Linked DNA regions of Homo sapiens: region 1 is linked to region 2. The links are contacts of gene promoters, found by promoter capture Hi-C in blood cells and fetal thymus (Javierre and others, 2016). All regions are on one chromosome and are shown on one strand. Each heading gives the region's core, a stretch centred on a gene start or on the middle of the fragment in contact. The rest is flanking DNA. Distances are from core to core; before and after follow the strand shown.

The links. The method cuts DNA at HindIII sites, captures the fragments that hold promoters and counts their contacts. A CHiCAGO score of 5 or more calls a contact.
Region 1: a contact is called between a fragment that was not itself captured here and the fragment with the promoter of DLGAP2 in region 2, in 1 of 17 cell types (neutrophils). The highest score is 6.3, in neutrophils.

What each region holds. Positions count from the first base shown.
Region 1 is chr8:1,746,015-1,749,633 of GRCh38, forward strand. It overlaps LOC105377778 (a long non-coding RNA gene), which reads right to left. Exons shown (of 4, transcript XR_007060784.1): 3 at 2,280-2,390. Among named protein-coding and RNA genes, the nearest start is that of CLN8, 16 kb to the right of the region's middle. The HindIII fragment of the contact is 3,097 bases long and covers 596-3,619 here.
Region 2 is chr8:736,208-739,679 of GRCh38, forward strand. DLGAP2 (DLG associated protein 2) reads left to right here and starts at 1,421. Exons shown (of 15, transcript NM_001346810.2): 1 at 1,421-1,618. The coding sequence starts at 1,601. LOC124902044 (a long non-coding RNA gene) reads right to left here and starts at 823. Exons shown (of 2, transcript XR_007061156.1): 1 at 650-823; 2 at 1-10. It overlaps LOC401442 (a long non-coding RNA gene), which reads left to right and starts at 2,341. Exons shown (of 1, transcript NR_134292.1): 1 at 2,341-3,472. The HindIII fragment of the contact is 4,533 bases long and covers 1-3,472 here.

The sequences.
Region 1 (3,619 bases), core at 894-3,393, 1.0 Mb after region 2:
GAAATGTCAAGAAAATAACACTACAGAGCACATATGGAGGAAAGGCAGACAGTGCAAAGATTGCAATAACTGTGTTCCTCCAAGTTATAAGATGTGGAAATAAGACAAGTGATGGGTCCCACGTCCAACGTGGCTCGGCTAGAAGGTGCTTTCTGCTTTAATATGTGGGGATTTCTGGCTGTCTCTGGACTGTGCCCAACAATAAGCCCTAAAAAGTGAACCCTGATTCAGCTGTGAGGGCCTGAGGTCCAGCAGCTCTGCACTGTGGCTCTCTGGCCCCACCCACCCCAGCTTGTGACTGGTGAGTCACCCAGCCCAGCAGACACCATCGTGCCCTCTGCAGATGCACAAGCTGCTTCCTGCCTTGCTTTCCTCCCAGAGCTGTTTGCCATAAATGACCACACGTGTAAGAAAGCACATTGCATACTTCTAACATTCGGTGTGAGCACCACGTGTACACATAAACAAGTATCCGTGCGTTTATCTACAAAATAGAAGTAGTCCAAGGATATGGTACAGCTGTTAAAAGGCTTGACAAAATTGAAACACAGTAATGGTGCTTCTGAAGTTTGCCAAATTTCTATGATGATGAAAAAGCTTTTATCCCAGATACAAAACCTTTGTTCTCAGCATCATCTAGTGACAAGTCGATGGGACTAGGCATTAAGAGATGGGATGTGGATTAAGTAGGATCACTGGGTTTTGGTGAAAGACACCGTTATGAGTTGAATTATACCCCATTCAAAAAAAAAAGGTATGTTGGAGACCTAACCACCCCCCATACCTGGAAATGTGACTTTATTTGGAAATAGGGTCTTGTCTATTTCCAAAGAGGGAATGAAATTAAATCAAATTCAGATAAGGTCATGAGGGAGGATCCTAATTGAATACAGTCAGTGTTCTTATAAAAAGGGGAAACTGGGACACAGAGAGACACACACAGAGGAAGGACACCACGTGAGGACTGGAGCTCCACCACCGAGCCGAGGAGCCACTCAGCCCAGGGGCCACCCAGCCGAGGGGCCACCGGAGGCCAGATCCAGGCCCAGCTGGGACAGACCCTCCCCTGGAGCCTTCAGGGGAGCTCAACCCTGCGGACACCGGGATCTCCGACTTCTGGCTTGGGAGAGAAGACCGTCCTATTGTTTGTGGCACTTTGTTATGGCAGCCCTAACAAACTGATACAGACCCTAAAGCGAGAGGGGTGAACACAGTTCTGACTTTGAAGGCACCAAAGCCCACGTTTGCATTCCAGTTCTGATGCTTATTGATGGTGGCACCACCTGATTTCTCTGAGCTTATTTTCTTTTCATTTATTTATTTTTGAGAGGGAGTCTCACTCTGTCGCCCAGGCTGGAGTGGAGTGGCATGATCTCAGCTCACTGCAGCCTCTGCCTGCTGGGTTCAAGCGATTCTCCTGCCTCAGCCTCCTGAGTAGCTGGGAGTACAGGCACCCGCCACCATGCCCAGCTATTTTTTTTTTTGTATTTTTAATAGAGACAGGGTTTCACCATGTTGGCCAGGCTGGACTCGAACTCCTGACCTCAGGTGATCCACCTGCCTCAGCCTCCCAAAGTGCTGGGATTACCAGTGTGAGCCACTGCAACCTGGCTTTATTTTCTTTGTAAAAAGACATGTGTATCTATCTGAACACACAGATTACAGATACAGATGTGGACATAGATGTAGCTATGGACATAGATGTATATAGATATAGATATAGTAATATAGTTTAGATATTTGTCCCCACCCAAGTCTCATGTTGAGTTGTAATCTCCAGTGTTGGAGATGGGGTCTGGCGGGAGGGGTTTAGTTCGTGGGTGAAGATCCCTCGTGGCTTTGTGCTGTCCTCACAATGGTGAGTGAGTTCTCAGGAGGTCTGGGTGTTTAAGTGTGTGGCAGCTCCCCCAACCCACTCTCTCTCTCTCTGACTTCAGCTCTGTCCATGTGACACACCTGCTCCTGCTTCACCTTCCGCCATGAGCAAAAGCTCCCAGAGGCCTCCCCAGAAGCGGAGCAGATGCTGGTACGATGTTTGCGCAGCCTGCAGAACCGTTAGCCAATTCCACCTCTTTTCTTTGTAAATGACCCAGTCTCAGGTATTTCTTTATAGCAATGCAAGAATGACTTAACAGATATAGACACAGCTGTGATATGGGTATAGATGTAGAAATATAGAGATATGGGTATGGGTATAGATATTGATATGACTGTAGATGTAGATGTAGGTGTATATGTAGACACAGATAAGGATACAGACATATAATTGGCACGCGTACCTGGGATAACACAGATAAAGATGCTTCCTCTCTCTTCTCCTAGACCGGGAGCTCACTGGCAGCAAAGACCCCACATTGCTTCCTGTGTCCATCCCAGTGACACAGCTGCACCTAGGCACACAGCGGATGTCCTTGAGCACCTGTCAGGAAGGCTGACACAGCCTAACCCGCTTGCTCACTCCTCCGACCTCCCACGTGAATGGTACCCCACCAGCCACTATGGTGATGAACAACCCGAGGTCGGTGTCTGGCTGGAAGTTCCCTGGCCCTCAAAAATTATTTTATGTATGGAACATATGGTTTAATGTTTAAATTCTTTAAACTTGCCCGACATAATTGAGCTCACCGATTAGCCCACAGCTAAGGAGTCCTTGCCATTATATCTATGTCCTTCTCTTTATCTTGTTTCCAGCAGCCCCACCCTGCCCTGGCCTGAGCCCCCCACATCCCCCTTGCTGCAAAAATGAATCATTCCCCCTACCTTCCCCAGCTCTGCCCCAATTCCAGGTCAGGCTTTTGTGCTCCAGAAATCATCTACGGGTTTTCCACATAATGCCCATGACAATTTAGCGTCTCTTACCAACATCAGCATCAAGAAGCTACATAAAATGCGTGGATGTTAAATCTACAGTGAGAGCTCCTGGATAGCTCCGTGCCCCAGATTCGCTAATCAGCCTGCAAACCATTTGCACGCAGGCTTTCGTTTACAACAAGAGCTTACATTTTAGCATGAGGCAGAAAGACAAGAAACTCTCACAGATCTCATCTATTCTTCTTTTCAATTACTTTGTAATTCTACACTTCCATTAAGAAGTTAATTACTTCAACGTTAACCTTCCATCTATCTTTGTAACATAAAACAAAGATTGGATAAAAATACAAGGACTTACTAAAATGGCAAACGCTTATAGAACACTTACGAGGTGGCAGGCGGGGTTTTCAGGGCTCCGCTCATTGAGTATATTAACCGGGATTCCCGTGAGGGCTGTGAGACAAACACGGGCAGTGCTCAAAACGCTTCACAGCCAGTTCAGCTCCACGTTGATTGCTGAGTCGTGGAAACGTGCAAGGGGTCCCGGAGAGTCAACTGTTTACCAACTGGCTTGGGAGTATTCAAATGTGTAACAACGGAACGCTGATGTGCCGGGGTATGTGGCCTGAATCCCACCAGCCTCTGTGGCAGGAACAGCATCAGCCCATTTTATAGAGAAGGAAACTGAGGCCCAGAGACAGGAAGCGACATTCCCAGGGCTCACAGACAGCATGGGTGCAGATGGACCGTGCAGTCTGGTTTCCACAGCTGAGCCAGTGGCCTCTGCACTAACTGTCTCAATTCTGGG
Region 2 (3,472 bases), core at 171-2,670:
TGCTCACACGCTGAGAACACAGGAGAGGCCGTCAGTACATTTGTGTGATTTTCTTGTTGCGGTTGCATGAAATAATATATATATATATTTTTAAAAAACGTGAAGGGATGGGGACGAAATGCAGGGGAGGAAAGCAAAGGGAAAGTAAATTGTGAAATGAAAATAAATTGGCCTGGAATCTCTCCCTAGTTGAGGTTTGGGCGCTGAATGCACCTTTTTTTTTTTTTTTTTTGACAGTGGAGACCACTGATAGATTCGGGAAACATTTAGAAGAAATGGACAGCGGCCGGACTTCTTTCTCCCATTCACCTTTCTACCCCCTCGTCGTTTAGCACTCTGCCTTGAAAATAAACTGCAACTGATGAATATTTTGGTGATCAATTATACGGGGAATTCTTACAGAGCCTGTTTTTTGTTTAAAGATCTTGGAATTTCTGGAAAAGATTGGTTTGTCCATTCCAAATATTTTGGATGACCTGATTTCATTCTAACTCCCATCCGTCTTTCTATGCGGTTTGTTTTCGCATCTTTTACCTCATTTAAATGCCGTAGCCATGCAGGTGGAAAGCAGAAATCCATTTCTGCGTTTATGTTAAACTGGGGCTGAGAGACTTGCCCAGGGTCGGTGACCGCCCAGGGATCCCCATACCAGCGCGTCTAGCTCCCGCGTTCCGATCCCGGAAGGGAAAACCCATGATCCTGGCGAGGGTCCGTCCACACGTGGCCAGGGTGGCTGATCTTCCCGGCTGCTGTGGTTGTCAACACCACTTCTCCGGATCGATTTTCCCTTTTCCTCGGCTCTGTCGTCCATACGCCACTCACAGCAAACCCAGGCGGCGGGCCCCCTCCGAGGGCGCTCCTTGCGTCCGGACCCAGGTTCTCGGGGCGCCCCCCGGTGGGTCCCCGCGAAGCCGCCGCCGCACACCTTCCTCAGCGTAGCCCGCCAGTGGAAACCGGGGGAGGTTCTGCCTCCAGCACCCAAGCGGCGGCCGCACCTCGCAGTGAGACCCTCGCAAGCGCCCGCGCCTCCCTCGCCCCGCGTCCCCTCTGCCCCGCGAGCCCCCCTGGGCGCCGAGCCGACTCGAACCCGAGCGCGAGTCCCGCGCACAAACGCGCCGGCGCGTCTCTAACAGCGGTCCAGAAAGGCTGACCCTGCCCGGGGGCGACGGGTGTGACCGGGTCCCCCGCTAACTTTCGGGCGCGGTGAGCGTCGCCTGCGCGCGCCGCGGTGGAGGCCGCTGCTTTCCCGCCGGGAGCCCGGCACAGTCCCCGGGTGACCCGCGCGCCCCGCGCAACAGTTGGAGCCGGGCTGCCCGCGCGCTCCCCAAGCCGGGCCCTTCCCCAGATGCAGCCGCGCGCCGGCCGCCCCCCAGTGCGCCGGTGCCTCCCTGGGCGCCGAGTGCGCAGGCGCCGGCCGTGAAGACCGACCGTGCGCCGGGCTCGAGCGCGGTCTGAGCGCGCGGCGCCTGCGGCGGCGAACGGACGGACGGACCGCGGACGGACGTACTGACCCCAACCCGCGAGCCCCGGGAGCCGTCGGTCTGAGGAGGGGCCGCTTCGCCATGTCGCCCCGCACCTGCTGAGCCCGGAGCGTCCGAGGATGTCCGCGCTGAGGAAGGTGCGAGCCGCCGGGGGCTGCCGGGAGCCGGGCGCGGGGCTCCGAGAGCCGTCGAGGCGGGGAGGGCGCGGTGTGTCGGACCCGCGGGGACGCCCCGAGGGCGTCAGGGTTGGGGGCGGGGGCGAGCGGGGGTCGTGCCGCCCGCCGGGGCCGGAGCGCTGGGGACCCCAGGGACAGCCTGTGCTCGGGGGTCGCGCGTTGCGCTCCTCGCCGGGCTCCGCGCATCCCTGGCCGCGCTCGGGGGTGCCGGGACCCTGGGCTCCGGGGGTGCGGGAGCGCACGGGGCCGCGGAGGTGTGAAATTCTCCGCTCTGCCTGCCCGGGGTGGAGGGGGCAAAGCCTGGGGGGTGCCGGCGCGCCAGGGGCTACGCGCCTAGCTCCGGTGGGGCAGCTGCGAGCGAGTGGGGGCGGCGGGCAGCAGACTGCATCCCCCTCCCCCCAAGCCCGGGTGGAAACGCCGACGGGGACTGGGAATGAATGAAGGGTGCCGGGCTGGGCTGCGCGCACGGGGGCTCGCGGGGGCGGGGGCGACCAGGATGGGGCCCTTGTGCCGGGCAGCAGCGGCTGCCGAGACCAGGCGGAGTGGAGGGTGCGCGCAGCGAGGGGGTGGCCGCCGCCCGGCTCTCCAAGTGCGAGCGAGGAGCTCGGGGTCTTTTTTAGGGGTGGTTGCTAAGCGAGGCGCTACCCAGCGCAGGGTTTTGTAACTAAGCCTCCCCCGGCAGCGGCTGTTGCTGTCTCCGGCTCCTTCGCTAACGATTGCAGGAGAAATAATGAGGATGTAATTATTACAGCCCTGCGCGGAGGGCTGGGGGGCGGCGGACGCGGGCTCCTCTGCCTGCGCGCCCAGGTGGGGCTGGGCTGGGCTGGGCTGGGCTGGGCTGGACTGGACGCCTCTCCCCGCCCGGCCCTCCCTCAGCGCGCGGCGTGTGCGGTGCCCGAGGCTTCGGAGCAGGCTGGACCTGGGAACCCGGGGAGGGGCCTGGAGGAGAGATAGCTGGGCGAGGTGGGCGCCGGCGAGAAGGCGGAGCCCCCGGACAGCGTAGGTTCGCAGGTGGAGAGCGGACGCGGGGGCGAGGGTGCGCGGCGGGTCTGCGATGCGCGTCGGAAACTCGCGGCCCCCGGTCCCGGCCCTGCGCGCTTGGAGCCCGGGTCCTTCCAGCCCCTGCGCGACGCCGCCGCCGCCGCCGCCGGTGAATGGCGATCCCGGCCACGGCCTGGAATTGGAAATTCGTGACTTGTCGGCGGCCCCGGTCTTCTATCGATTAAAGATAAAGCGATCAGCAGTGAATTTATCCTTCGTGTGGATGAACTCGGCCAGCCCGGGCTGTGGGGGGTTTGGGAACTGTAAATATTCTCCAAAGCGCCGCCGCTTCTCCCGTCTTCCCGGACTCGAGGCTGGAGGCAGCTCCGGCGACGCGAAGGGGGGTACCCCCCGGAGAGGTCGGGCCTGGGGCGCGGCGGACAGAGACCCGGTCCCAGAGCCTGGCGGAGCCCGACAATCCGCCCTGTCAGGAGGAATCTCATCAACAGCCCGTGAATTAATTGTCCTTGCAGTTGGGAAATAACCCGGTACCTCGGCGTAGCCCGAGGGAGTCCAGGAGGCTCTCCAAGGAGCCTTCCCCCGGGTCGCGAAGCTGCGCTAAACCCCGGCCCCAGCGCACCTTGGAAGGCGCATTTTGGCCTGAGGTGAACGCACCTTACACCATTTTCATTTTACTTCCTTTTCTCTGAGAAAGGTAATAGATAACCAAGGCCAAAAATGGCGAAATGATGAAAAAATGGTAATTCTTGGCAGGTCAAGTTGTTACTCTGGGTTTAAAAAAATGTCATTAATCAGGATTTTCCAGTAGCCAAA